2 separate regions of the Homo sapiens genome follow, and region 1 is linked to region 2. The links are contacts of gene promoters, found by promoter capture Hi-C in human tissues and cell types (Jung and others, 2019). All regions are on one chromosome and are shown on one strand. The core of a region is centred on a gene start or on the middle of the fragment in contact, and the rest is flanking DNA. Distances in the headings are between cores, read along the strand shown.

Region 1 (6,747 bases), core at 3,958-6,457, 190 kb before region 2:
AAGAACGTCCTGGACAGGGATGTAACAGTGAACAGCTCTGGCAGGTGTAGGAAAGGGTCGCAGCCATCATATCCCCTCCCCAAATGCTCAAACTAAATCTGCACATACGTCTGTATTAGGATTTGGTACATGTTATTTCGTGTGGGGAGGTATAAACAATGCATTTAAACTTTACGTTTCTAGTTAGAATATGCCTATTGCTAAATATTTCCATACTGATTCAACTACTTCAGTGCTGTGAGACAAATGAGCTATTACAACACGAATGAAAGCGCTGGCGACTCCGCAGCGCCGGCCGGTCCCCAGCCATCACCCGCGCCGTCCCGATGGCGCCGCTCGCGTTGCTCCTTTCTCGGCGCCAGGATCTCTCCCCAGGAACCAGCGCAGATCCGGAGGCCACGCTGCGCTGCGCTGCGCTGCGCTGCGCTGTCAGGACGCGCAGTTCCCGCCCCGCTGAAGGGACACCGTTTTACAACACGCCGCGTAGACCGTGACAGGGAAGTAAGGCCCACGGCAGCGCTCCCTCCTCAGCACTCGCGGCCGCGGACAGGACGCCTTTTCCTCCTCCTCTCACCTGGTGACCGGGTGTCCCGAACCGCGGCCGCTCCCGGGCGGGTCCTGAAGAGACCGTGGCTCCGTCTTCCCGGTCGACGCCCCGGGGCGACGAGTGCGGATCCGCCGCGGTTCCCGCGCGTGCTCCAGGTTGGGCGGGAGCCGGGCGCCCCCTCGCGGCAGTCCTGGGGAGTCTCTGAAAATCAGCGTTCGGATGACTGCAGGCCGTGATTTCGGAAATGTCAACTGAAATCGAGGCCACCATCCCGTGCCTTGATCGGAACGGATGGAGATTTTAAAAACTAAAAAAGATGGCCCGGGCGCGGTAGCTCACGCGTGTAAACCCAGCACTTTGGGAGGCCGAGGCGGGCGGATCACCCGAGGTCGAGAGTTTGAGACCAGCCTGACCAACGTGGAGAAACCCTGTCTCTACTAAAAATACAAAATTAGCTGGGCGTGGTGGCGCATGCCTGTAATCCCAGCTACTCGGGAGTCTGAGGCAGGAGAATCGCTTGAACCCAGGAGGCGGAGGTTTCGGTGAGCTGCACCATTGCACTCCGGCCTGGGCAACAAGAGTGAAACTCCGTCTCAAAAAAATAAAATAAATAAAATAAAAACTAAAAAAGATGTCCAGTAGGCAAAAGTCAGTTGAGTTTCTTCATATCACCAATAATGGATGGAAATAATTGGAACTAGAAATATTAAAATACCATTTACAATAGCACCCCTGAAGCTGAATCCATTAAGTATCAGCGTAACAAAAGGTGTGCAAACATGCATTCGGAAAACCATGAATCACAGTTGAGAGAAACCAAAAGAGGTATAAGTAAATGCAGAGATGTTCCTTATTTAGGAGAAGTACACTCATTATTGTGAAGGTGACAATTCTTTCCAAATCGATCTATAGATTCAGCCAAATCCCAGTTAAATTCCAGGCAAAGATATCGACAAACTGTTCCTAAACCCAGAATGGATGAAATAAGACTGAAGGAGAACAAAGTTAAAGACCTCACACATCTGGATCTGAACACTCACCCTAAAGCCACAGTAATGAAGAGAGCGTGGCAGTGGTGAAGCGGTTAGACACATAGATAAGTGGGACAGAACAGAGAGCCCCCAAACAGACTCAAGCCAACTGACTTTGTCAAACGGACAAAGGCAACTCAGTGGAGAAAGAGAAGTCTGTTCCACAAAAGACAACAGAACAATTGCAAACCATAGGGGAAAGAAATGAATGGAGACAAAAACCTTGTATTTTATCCAAAAATTCACTCAAAATAGTCCATAGACTTAAATTTTCAAGTGCAAAGTTGTGAAAGTTATAGAAGAAAGCCGAGAAAAATATCTGCATGGCCTTGGTTTGGGTGATGAGTTTCTAGATGCAATACACCAAAAGCCAACCCACAAAAGAAAACAAAACAATAACGGGGACTTTATTAAAATTTAAAATGGCTGCTCTGGTTAAGAGAACAAAAAAGCAATTCACAGACTGATTGATAGAAAATATTTGGGAAACAGCCGGGCAAGGTGGCTCATACCCATAATCGCAGCACTCTGGGAGGCCAAAGTGGGTGGATCATTTGAGGTCAGGAGTTCGAGACTAGCCTGGCCAACATGGTGAAACCCCGTCTCTACTAAAAATACAAAACAAAACAAAAAAAATTAGCTGGATGTGGTGGCACACGCCTGTAATCTCAGTTACTCGGGAGGCTGAGGCAGGAGAATTGCTTGAACCCAGGAGGCAGAGGTTGCAGTGAGCTGAGATCGCACCACTGCACTCCAGCCTGGGTGATGGAGTAAGACCCTGTCTCAAGAAAAAAAAAGAAAATATTTGGGAAACACATCCGAAAAAGGACTTGTCTGCAAAATATTTTTTTTTAAAAAAAACCTCTAAAACTCAAAAAGAATTAGATGAACAACCCAATTGAAAATATGTGAAGATCTGAAAAGACACCTCAGCAAAGAAGATGCACAGATGCCAAATAAGCATCCAAATTAATTAATTCTCAACAAACTTGTCCTGAGGGAAAAGCAGATTAAATGAGATAGTACTGTACATCTATTAAAATGGCTAAAATCTAAAGAACAGTAGCAATTGCAATAGGAGGTCTCATTCATTGCTGGGGGAAGGCATAAGGGTACAGTCACTTCAGCAGTTTTTCCAAAAACTAAACAAGTCTCACCATCTGATCCAACAATCTCCTTCTTAGGTATTTAGACAACTGCCTTGAAAAATTATGTCCAAGTAAAAACCAGCACACACATGTATAGAAGCACTATTCATAATAGCCAAAAATTAAAGGAATCATGACATTCTTCAGTAGCTGAATGCATAACCAAACTGAAGTATGCGGTGCAATGGAATGCTATTCAGCAAAAGAAAGGCATGACCTATCCACCCACGCTACCCGGATGGACCTCACAGGCACACTGCTTCATGAGAGAGAAAGTCATGACCTATCCACCCACGCCACCTGGATGGACCTCACAGGCACACTGCTTCATGAGAGAGAAAGAAAGGCATGACCTATCCACCCACGCTACCCGGATGGACCTCACAGGCACACTGCTTCATGAGAGAGAAAGTCATGACCTATCCACCCACGCTCCCTGGATGGACCTCACAGGCACACTGCTTCATGAGAGAGAAAGTCATGACCTATCCACCCATGCCACCTGGATGGACCTCACAGGCACACTGCTTCATGAGAGAGAAAGTCATGACCTATCCACCCACGCCACCTGGATGGACCTCACAGGCACACTGCTTCATGAGAGAGAAAGAAAGGCATGACCTATCCACCCACGTCACCCGGATGGACCTCACAGGCACACTGCTTCATGAGAGAGAAAGAAAGGCATGACCTATCCACCCACGTCACCTGGATGGACCTCACAGGCACACTGCTTCATGAGAGAGAAAGTCATGACCTATCCACCCACGCTCCCTGGATGGACCTCACAGGCACACTGCTTCATGAGAGAGAAAGTCATGACCTATCCACCCATGCCACCTGGATGGACCTCACAGGCACACTGCTTCATGAGAGAGAAAGTCATGACCTATCCACCCACGCCACCTGGATGGACCTCACAGGCACACTGCTTCATGAGAGAGAAAGAAAGGCATGACCTATCCACCCACGTCACCCGGATGGACCTCACAGGCACACTGCTTCATGAGAGAGAAAGTCATGACCTATCCACCCACGCCACCTGGATGGACCTCACAGGCACACTGCTTCATGAGAGAGAAAGAAAGTCATGACCTATCCACCCATGCTACCTGGATGGACCTCACAGGCACACTGCTTCATGAGAGAGAAAGAAAGGCATGACCTATCCACCCACGCCACCCGGATGGACCTCACAGGCACACTGCTTCATGAGAGAGAAAGAAAGGCATGACCTATCCACCCACGCTACCCGGATGGACCTCACAGGCACACTGCTTCATGAGAGAGAAAGAAAGGCATGACCTATCCACCCACGTCACCTGGATGGACCTCACAGGCACACTGCTTCATGAGAGAGAAAGGCATGACCTATCCACCCACGTCACCCGGATGGACCTCACAGGCACACTGCTTCATGAGAGAGAAAGAAAGGCATGACCTATCCACCCACGCCACCCGGATGGACCTCACAGGCACACTGCTTCATGAGAGAGAAAGAAAGGCATGACCTATCCATCCACGCTACCCGGATGGACCTCACAGGCACACTGCTTCATGAGAGAGCCAGGATGCAGAGGCTGTACGTCCCCACTTATATGACATGCTGGAAAGGCAAAACAACAGAGATAGCAAACTGATCAGTGGTGACACGGGATTCATGGCGGTGGGGATTTGAAGTACTCCATGTGATACTTTAACTGTGGATACCTGTCCCTGTCCACTTGTGAAAAGTGATAGAATTTTAAAGCCCAGAGTAAATCATAATGTATGCAAGTGGAATTACATTATTTAATATGTGGGAATATCCCTGGATGGAACACAGAATGTGACCAAGAATCTAACTGTATCACAAAAGATTAAAACAAAATCCCTGCAGGGCAAAACGTACTGACCTGAAAGGTCTCTTTAGAATTTAGTGGAATCTGGAGGCCAGGCGCGGTGGCTCACGCCTATAATCCCAGCACTTTGGGAGGCCGAGGCGGGTGGATCACGAGGTCAAGAGATCGAGACAATCCTGACCAACATGGTGAAACCCTGTCTCTACTAAAAATACAAAAATTAGCTGAGCGTGGTGACGCGTTCCTGTAATCCCAGCTACTTGGGAGGCTGAGGCAGGAGAATCACTTGAACCCGGGAGGCGGAGGTTGCAGTGAGCCGAGATCGCGCCACTGCACTCAAGCCTGGTGACAGAGTGAGACTCCGTCTCAAAACAAAAACAAAACAAAAACAATTATTGAACCATTGTATCTCCACCTGGAATGGAGCAGTGACTTATGTAAGTGGCAGATGATGGGAAGCAGGTCTCTCACTGCTGAGGTGGGAGGTTACAGATTAGCAAAGGGAGGCTACAATGATCCATGTGATAATAAACCAGAGGGGCAACATCAGCATCAACTCATACTTAGCCTAATCCAGACACCGACAGCTCCACATAGAAATCTCGATAATCAGGCGGTCCACATAGGTTGGAAACACACAGGTGTTTCCTGGCACGTCAGCTGTAAGACCTAAAGGCATTGAGGCCGCAGGGGCAATGAGTGCATTCAGCTCCTAAATATAGTTTTTCATGCGATTCTACAGTGAAAGGAACCAGGGCTCTTTGAAGAAATGGCTTCACTAAAACTAAGGCAGTAAAAACATGAGCCTGGATGATCCTGAAGTATCAAAAAGTAAGGAACTGCTCAGAACACAGACACACACACTCTCACCCCACACACACACACATACACACAAGCACACACACACACAGATTATGACAAAGAAAAACCAGAGCCAACAAGAGCTCCCAATGACACAAATGGGAATGAATAAAGCAACAAAATCCTGTAGTACTGAATTGTAACCAAAACTTGAAATAACTCTCCAGGTGTCCACACTGGCATAGGTCAATGATTACACACGTAAACAAAAGTGGGTGAGAGAAATCTCCTATGCAGAAAAATCCCAAATAATTGTAGTGGACACTCAGCCATTAAGGAAGTGGCGTTAACTCCCTGCTCAAGCATGACCCTGTGCCGGGTGTGCAGTGAGCCGAGATGGCGCCACTGCACTCCAGCCTGGGCGACAGAGTGAGACTCCGTCTCAAAAAAAAAAAAAAAAAAAAAAAAGAGAAGCAGCAAGCGCTGATGTAGAAATTGCAGGCAAGTTATCCAGATCCAGCTAAGACGGTTGATGAAAATGGCTACACTAAACAACATATTTTCTTTTCTTTTTTTTTTTCTTTGAGATGGAGTGTCTCTCTGTTGCCCAGGCTGGAGTGCAGTGGCGCAGTCTCGGCTCACTGCAACCTCCGCCTCCCTAGTTCAAGCAATTCTCCTGCCTCAGCCTCCTGAGTAGCTGGGATTACAGGCACGCGCCACCACGCCCAGCTAATTTTTGTATTTTTAGTAGAGACGGGGTTTCACCATATTGGTCAGGCTGGTCTCCAACTCCTGACCTTGTGATCCACCCACCTCGCCCTCCCAAAGTGCTGAGAGTACAGGCATGAGCCACCGCGCCTGGCCTAAACAACATATTTTCAACATAGACAAAATAGCCTTCTTACTAGGACTTTCATAGCCGGGGAAGAGAAGTCAATGCCTGGCTTCGAAGCTTTAGAGAACAGGTTGACTCTGTTCTTAGGGGCTAATGTGACTTACAGCCAATGGTCATTTACCATTCTGACCCAGGGCCCTTAAGAATGATGCAAAATCTACTGTGTCTGTGCTCTATAAATAGAACAACAAGCCTAGGTGACAGCACATCTGTTTAATGTCTAGTTTATGGAATATTTTAATCTGACTGTTGAGACCTATTGCTCAGTCTGTTGTTGCCCAGGCTGGAGTGCAGTGGCATGATCTTGGCTCACTGCAACCTCCGCCTCCTAGGTTCAAGTGATTCTCTCCTGTTTCAGCCTCACGAGTAGCTGAGACTACAGGCACCCACCACCACGCCTGGCTAGTTTTTGTATTTTTAGTAGAGACAGGATTTCACCATGTCCAGACCATGGTGAGACCATGGCCAGACTGGTCGCAAACTC
Region 2 (6,482 bases), core at 863-3,362:
GGGAGTGAGGTTTCACAGCCAGCTTCTGGGGGCTCCCACAGGCTTTGGTGGGCCCGGGCTTGAGGCCCCCACCTCTGCCTGTCTCCTAACGGCCCGCTCCTCTGTGCATCTGAGTCTAAAGTTCCTTCTCCTTACAGAGACCCCTGATCCAGGTAGGCCTCATCTTGACTAGGTTACATCTGCAAGGACCCTGTTCCCAATATAAGGTAATAAGGTCAGACTCCTACGGCACAGGAATTGTAGGGGGACCCTTCTCAACTCGGTGTAGGGGGAAGGACCCCACTGAACCCAGCGTAGGGGGAAGGACCCCACTGAACCCAGCGTAGGGGGAAGGACCCCTCTCAACTCGGTGTAGGGGGAAGGACCCCACTGAAGCCAGCGTAGGGGGAAGGACCCCACTGAACCCAGCGTAGGGGGAAGGACCCCACTGAAGCCAGCGTAGGGGGAAGGACCCCACTGAAGCCAGCGTAGGGGGAAGGACCCCACTGAACCCAGCGTAGGGGGAAGGACCCCACTGAACCCAGCGTAGGGGGAAGGACCCCTCTCAACTCAGCGTAGGGGGAAGGACCCCACTGAACCCAGCGTAGGGGGAAGGACCCTTCTCAACTCAGTGTAGAGGGAAGGACCCTACTGAACTCAGCGTAGGGGGAAGGACCCCACTGAACTCAGCGTAGGGGGAAGGACCCCACTGAACTCAGTGTAAGGGGAAGGACCCTTCTCAACTCAGTGTAGAGGGAAGGACCCTACTGAACTCAGTGTCCAGAAAAGCAAAGACACAACCCAATGTGAACACAGGCTAATGTTCCTGGCCGCAGAGGCCGGGAGGAGCTGGGAGCACCCACCGGTAGTGGCGTGCGGGAGTGGCTGATCATTTTCCCAGACGCCGTAATGACTGCAGCTGTAGGACAGCTGCTCTCTCAGAAGACGGGGGACTATGCACGGCGCTGTCACCCCTGCAGGTGACTTCACACGGTTTACTATAAACCACAGAGAGGGGCAGACCCGTCAGCAGAGGGGAAGGTTACCCTCCTAGGTGGAGGCGTGCTGTGTCCAGGCGCCCGACTTCCCCGTGTGTTTGAAAAGGTTCATTTATCATAAGACCCAAGGTAAATAAACAAAGGCCGCTTCCTTGGCCGCCCTGGAAGTCCCTGCTGCCTCCCATCTGGAATCCTGGGGTCTGTCCGGGCGCCAGCCCCTTTCCAAACACCCCTTCCCGCACCCCCACCGCAGGCCAGCGTCTCGGGCCCCGTCTGTCATTCGTGAACAGCTGTCCGGGGGGCTCCGGTGGCAGAGACGCCCCGGCCGCTCGCCGCTCTCGGCCTCGCCCGCCCAGTCCGAGTGGGGGGCGGTGCACCTGCGCATGCGCGCCCCTCCCCCGCCGCCCTCTCCCCGCCCCTCCCCACGTGACGCCGTGGGAACCCGGACCCCAGCGCCTCCGGGTGGGGGCAGCCGCCGGCCGCCGGCCGGGGATGGGGGTCCGGGGTGGCGGGAGAGCAGGAAGGATGGGGAGGGGACACCTGGCTCGCGGGGTCCGGGGGTCCCGGAGGAGAGGGTGGGGGAGGGGAGGCCGCCGCGAACGGGCTCCCGGGGGGGGTGGGGGGGACTCACCCGCACGACGTAGGAGACCCCGGGCCCCAGGACCCTGGCGTCGGGGTGTAGCCAGCCGTGCGCGGGTTTGTGGATGAAGCTGCCCTTCCGGATCCACTCGGCGGCGGCGGCGGCGTCCCCGGACCCCGCCGCCCCCCGCCCGCCCCGCGACCCCCGCGACCCCGCGCCCCGACAGCGGCTGAGCGCGGGCAGGGGACAGGGCGCGGCGCAGCGGGGCTCGCAGGCGCCCAGGACGGCGGCCGCCAGCGCCGGGACGCCCCCCGGGCCCGCCGGCTCGGGTTGGGGGTCCGCGCCCCCCGAGGCCCCAGCCGCCCGCGCCGCCGCCGGGCCGCGGCCCAGGAAGCCGCCCGGGGCCGCGAACTTCCACTGCGGCATTCGGGGCAGCAACGCGCAGAAGGTGGTGGGCGCCTCGGGCTCGGGGGGCGCGGGGGGCGCCGGGGGCGCGCGCCCGCCCGGACCCTGCGTCATGGCCGCGGCCGCCCGACGGAGCCCGACCGGGCGCTGCGCCTGGCGCGGAGGAAGCCCTCCCGCTCCGCCCGCTCCCTCCCGCCCCCCGGCCCGGTGATGTCATCCGCCCGGCCCAGCGCGCAGCCGCGGGGGGCTGCGCCCCTGGGACCCCGGCCCTCCTCGTCCCGGAGCCTGGCCGCGAGGCTGGGGAAACTGAGGCCCTCCGAGGACACCGGGCGCTGGCCTGGAACCCGCAGCCAAGGCGGGACGGGGCTTTGAACCCAGAACCCCGTCAGCGACCCTCCCCGCTGCGCCCCCCACCCCCGCCCGCCGCCCAAGTTCGCAGAAGGACCGAGCTGGAGAAGCTTAGAAATTCCACATCCCTTCTTTCCCCTATTTCCTAGTGGGGAAACTGAGGCCCCGGGAGGCGCGGCCAGGGAAAAGAGAACCCCAGACCCTAAGGTCAGCCCCTCCCTCTCCGTTGTTGCAGCTAGAAGGTACCTTAGGGTCACCCCTATTTCTTAGTGGGGAAACTGAGGCGCGGGGAGGGGAAGGGGCGCGGCCGAGGGCTCACAGACGAAGCTCAAACCCAGGAGTGCCGGCTCGGGGGTGGGGGGGGGGGGCGGGGCTAGGAGCGGAGCCGGGCCCCTGCTCTGCGGCCTGTCCCGGCCTCAGTTTCTCCGGCTGTAACTCAGGGGAGCGGGCTGGAGGGTCGCGGCCCTTCTTCCCTCACTTCTGGGGAGCCCAGTCCCGCACCAGCTCATCTGAGCTCTGGGCCTCAGCCTCCCAGGCCGGTCGCTCCATCCCCAGCCTCAACCTCTCCGAGACCGGCCGCACCTTCCCTGGCCTCAAGGGTCGGTTCCTTCTGCACCAGAAAACGGGGTGTCACTGTCACCCCGGGACCCAGCCTCCTGGCCCGACTTGGCTGGAGCTCCCCTGCACCTGCCCCGCCCCAAGCAGGGCTGATTGCCGGGAACAAAGGGAGGGGCCGGGACGCGCTGGCAGGTGGGGAGGGAGGGAGGGGCGAGGCTGCCCGGAGCCCGATCGATAATTCAGGGGATGAGATCACAGCCGGCGCCGCCCGCGGGGCCGGGGAGGTGGGGGAGGGGAGCGAGGCGCGCGGTCGCGATCGGCCGTCTCTGCCGCGGCGCGTGTCGGACTCAGCCCCTGCGCGTCCGCGGGAGGAGCAGATCGTGGGCGCGATTGGTCGGGCTGGAGCCGCGGCTGGACCTGCGCGCGGTGTGTGTGTTGTGCGCAGGGTGTACGCTGTGTCTGGGTGCGTGTCCAGGCATATGCAGGGGATCCAGGCTGCTGGGTCCTGGGGTGTGTTCACCTAATGGGTAAAGGGTGGGACAGGTTTGGCGGCCCTAGGCTGAGGGCTGTGGGCTGAGGAGAGAGCAGCCCCACCACCCCCTCTCTGCGCCCTGCATGCCTCCCAGGCTGCATCCCTCAGGGAGGTCCCGGGGCAGTGTCGCACCCTCCCAAGCTCCGGGATTAGGGTCTTTCTGGATGGGAGGTTTGTAAGGTGGTCCAGGTGCCATCCCTCCCTGGCACACAGAGGGCTCAGTCACACGGCACCCCCGGTGTGTTTCCTTCCTGTCCCTTGGAGACAGTGGCAGGAACTCAGTCCAACATCCAGAGTTCAAATCCTGACATCAGACTGAGGTGGGGGCTCACAGCATGCCCCAGGACAAATGTCCAGTCTCTCCAAAGCACCATTTCCTCTCAGTAGATGCCCCTGGTCCTGAGTTGCTATGAAGCCTAGATGATCTTTATTAATATCCAAAACATAGCAAGCAGCTACTGATGGCAGATATTAGAATACCTCAAGCTCCTATACATCCTTCAAAACCCAGCTTCAATATTGCCTCTTCCAGGAAGCCTACCTGGCTGCCTGCTCAAAAGCTTGGCTCCACCTCCGGCCTCCCCTCGCCCTGGGTCTCTCTTCTGGTCTCTCAGACCCCCTGGCCACTGGAGGGCTACGGGTCTGGCTCTGGAGGGCGGCGTTCGGGTCTCTTTTCTGTGACATCAATAGACACGTTAAGGCCGGGCTCGGTGGCTCATGCCTGTAATCCCAGCACTTTGGGAGGCCAAGGCAGGAGGATCACAAGGTCAGAAGATCGAGACCATCCTGGCTAACATGGTGAAACCCCATCTCTACTAAAAATACAAAAAATTAGCCAGGCGTGGTGGCGGGCGCCTGTAGTCCCAGCTACTCGGGAGGCTGAGGCAGGAGAATGGCGTGAACCCGGGAGGCGGAGCTTGCAGTGAGCCGAGATCGCGCCACTGCACTTCAGTCTGGGCGGGAGTGCGAGACTCCGTCTCAAAAAAAAAAAAAAAAAAAAGACACATTAAATGAGTAAGCACATGTGATGCTGACAGCTCTCCAGCCCAGGAAAGGTTTATTGGCTAAGCAACTGTAGAAGGTGGAGTGGGAAAGGCACAGGCCTCGGGGCTGCCTCCAGCCTGAGTTTGGGCTGGGACCGGGGCTAACCCAAGCTGTGATGGGGATCCAGGCCCTAGTGGAGCTGGACGCCGAGTTCTGGGACACAGGAAGCTCCATCTCCAGCCAGCTACTGGGGAGGGCCGGAAGGTGTCCCTTTCCCCACCTGGCCTGGCCTGGCCTGGCGTGACCTGGAAGAAACTGGGGCACTGGAAGGAGACTCACCCTGCACCCTGCACAGGGCCATGGGTCACAGCCCCCAGGGACTGGAAGGATCAGGTGTCCTAGAAGGACCTGGACAGTTCAGGAAAGGGGAGGGAAGACTCCTTTCCCAGCCCCTCTCGCCTTCTAGCCCCTCCAGCCAAAGCCAGGCCCCAGGAGAGGCCCGCCAGCCCCCCGTTCACTGTGTGGGAAACAGGCCTGGCCTAGCAGCAGCGGCCGGGCAGCCTGTGCCCCGCAGGCCGGGAGGGCGTGGTGGCGGCCATGGTGCTGGCCCGTTTCGAGTGGCGGATGCCCATAGAGAACGCTGGAGCCCTGGCTTTGTTCACGGTGACCTGCTCTGGGCAGTGGGCGCCAGGGCCGGGGGTCTCCTCCAGGGGTCGCGGGGCCCGGGGCCGCCCCAGCATGGTGAAGGCAGGCAGGCGCTGGCGGTAGGTGTTTGCGTCCGGGCTGTCGTACTGGCCCGGGCCTGGTATCTCAGCAGGATCCTGCGGGGGGCGGGCGGGGGGGGTGCGGCCCACCACCGTGTAGCTGGGGCTGCTGGGCTTGGTGAAGATCTGTGAGCCCCACAGAGGGGGCATGGTGTAGGCATTAGGGGCAGGGGCTGAGGTGTCCAGGGGCTTCAGGGGGAGGCGGCAGCCCAGGGTGAAAGCCGGCGGTGTCCGATGGCGCACAGGGGGCACCTTCTCTGGGCTGTAGGCCCCAGGGCCTGGCGTCACCTCCGGACCTGAGAGAGTGGGGAAGGAAAGGTGGCACTGATGTCCTCACCTGCCCAGAGACCCGGCCTGGCTCCCCATGGCCCACATGCACCCTGGAGCTTACAACGCTTCTCAAGCAGCCTGGGTGCCTTTCTCTCCCTTCCCCATCCTCCATACACATGGTCTGTGTTTCAAGCCTCCAGGACTTTGCCCAAGCTGGACCCAGGGCCAAGCACGCCTTCATTTTCCACCCCTCCTCCCTGCTGCCTTCCCCAGCCCATCCAGGGTAGAGCCCTCACAGCCCTTCCAGAGCCCCACAGCCTGGGTTTTCCCCTCTCTCCAGACGTGAGCACACTGAGGTGGGATGGTCTGCACCTGCATCTAACTGCCCCACCAGACTGGGATCCCATAAAAAGGAAGGCATGTCAAATTTACTCCAACTCTCCAGCAGTTGACTGTCTGAGTTGATGGGTGAACAGGATAGGTAGGAGGTGAGTGGTTGAGCGGGGAGTGAATGGTTCATGAAGGGATTTGTAAATGGATGGATGAGTGGATGATGGATGGATGGATGGATGGATGGATGGATGGATGGATGGAACGGTTGATAGGTAGAAGGAAAAAAGGAAGGATTCATAGATGAGTGGGTAGGTGGGTGGCTGAATGGGTGGGAGGGTGGGCGGATGGATGGATGGATGAGTGAGTGGATGGGTGGATAGATGATGGATGGATGGATGGGTGGGTGGAAGGATGGATAGGTGGATGGGTGAGTGGGTGGATGGATGGATGGGTTGATGAGTGGATGGATGGATGGGTGGGTGGGTGGATGGCTGGGTGGGTAGATGCTAGGTGGGTCAATGGATGAGTGGATGGATGGGTGGATAGAATGTTGGGTGGATGGTGGAAGGAGGGGCGGGTGGATGGGTGGATGGATGGATGGATGGATGGATGATGAGTGGGTGGATGGGGGATGGATGGATGTGTAGATGGATGGATGGATGAGTGAGTGGATGGATGAATGGGTAGGTGGATGGGTGGATGGATGGGTATGTGGTTGGATGGGCGGGTGG

What was found. Contacts are between HindIII fragments. The study calls those that stand out against the background at their distance.
Region 1: a fragment that was not itself captured here is called in contact with the fragment with the promoter of SHC2 in region 2 in 1 of the 25 tissues and cell types used here (H1 embryonic stem cells).

The regions. Positions count from the first base shown.
Region 1 is chr19:266,824-273,570 of GRCh38, forward strand. No RefSeq gene overlaps it. Among named protein-coding and RNA genes, the nearest start is that of PLPP2, 21 kb to the right of the region's middle. RefSeq lists an enhancer at 411-540 and silencers at 701-780, 5,332-5,532. The HindIII fragment of the contact is 6,557 bases long and covers 1,930-6,747 here.
Region 2 is chr19:458,921-465,402 of GRCh38, forward strand. It overlaps SHC2 (SHC adaptor protein 2), which reads right to left and starts at 2,113. Exons shown (of 13, transcript NM_012435.3): 1 at 1,609-2,113. The coding sequence starts at 2,076. It overlaps CIMAP1D (CIMAP1 family member D), which reads right to left. Exons shown (of 4, transcript NM_182577.3): 4 at 4,441-5,444. The coding sequence ends at 4,924. The HindIII fragment of the contact is 8,702 bases long and covers 1-3,190 here.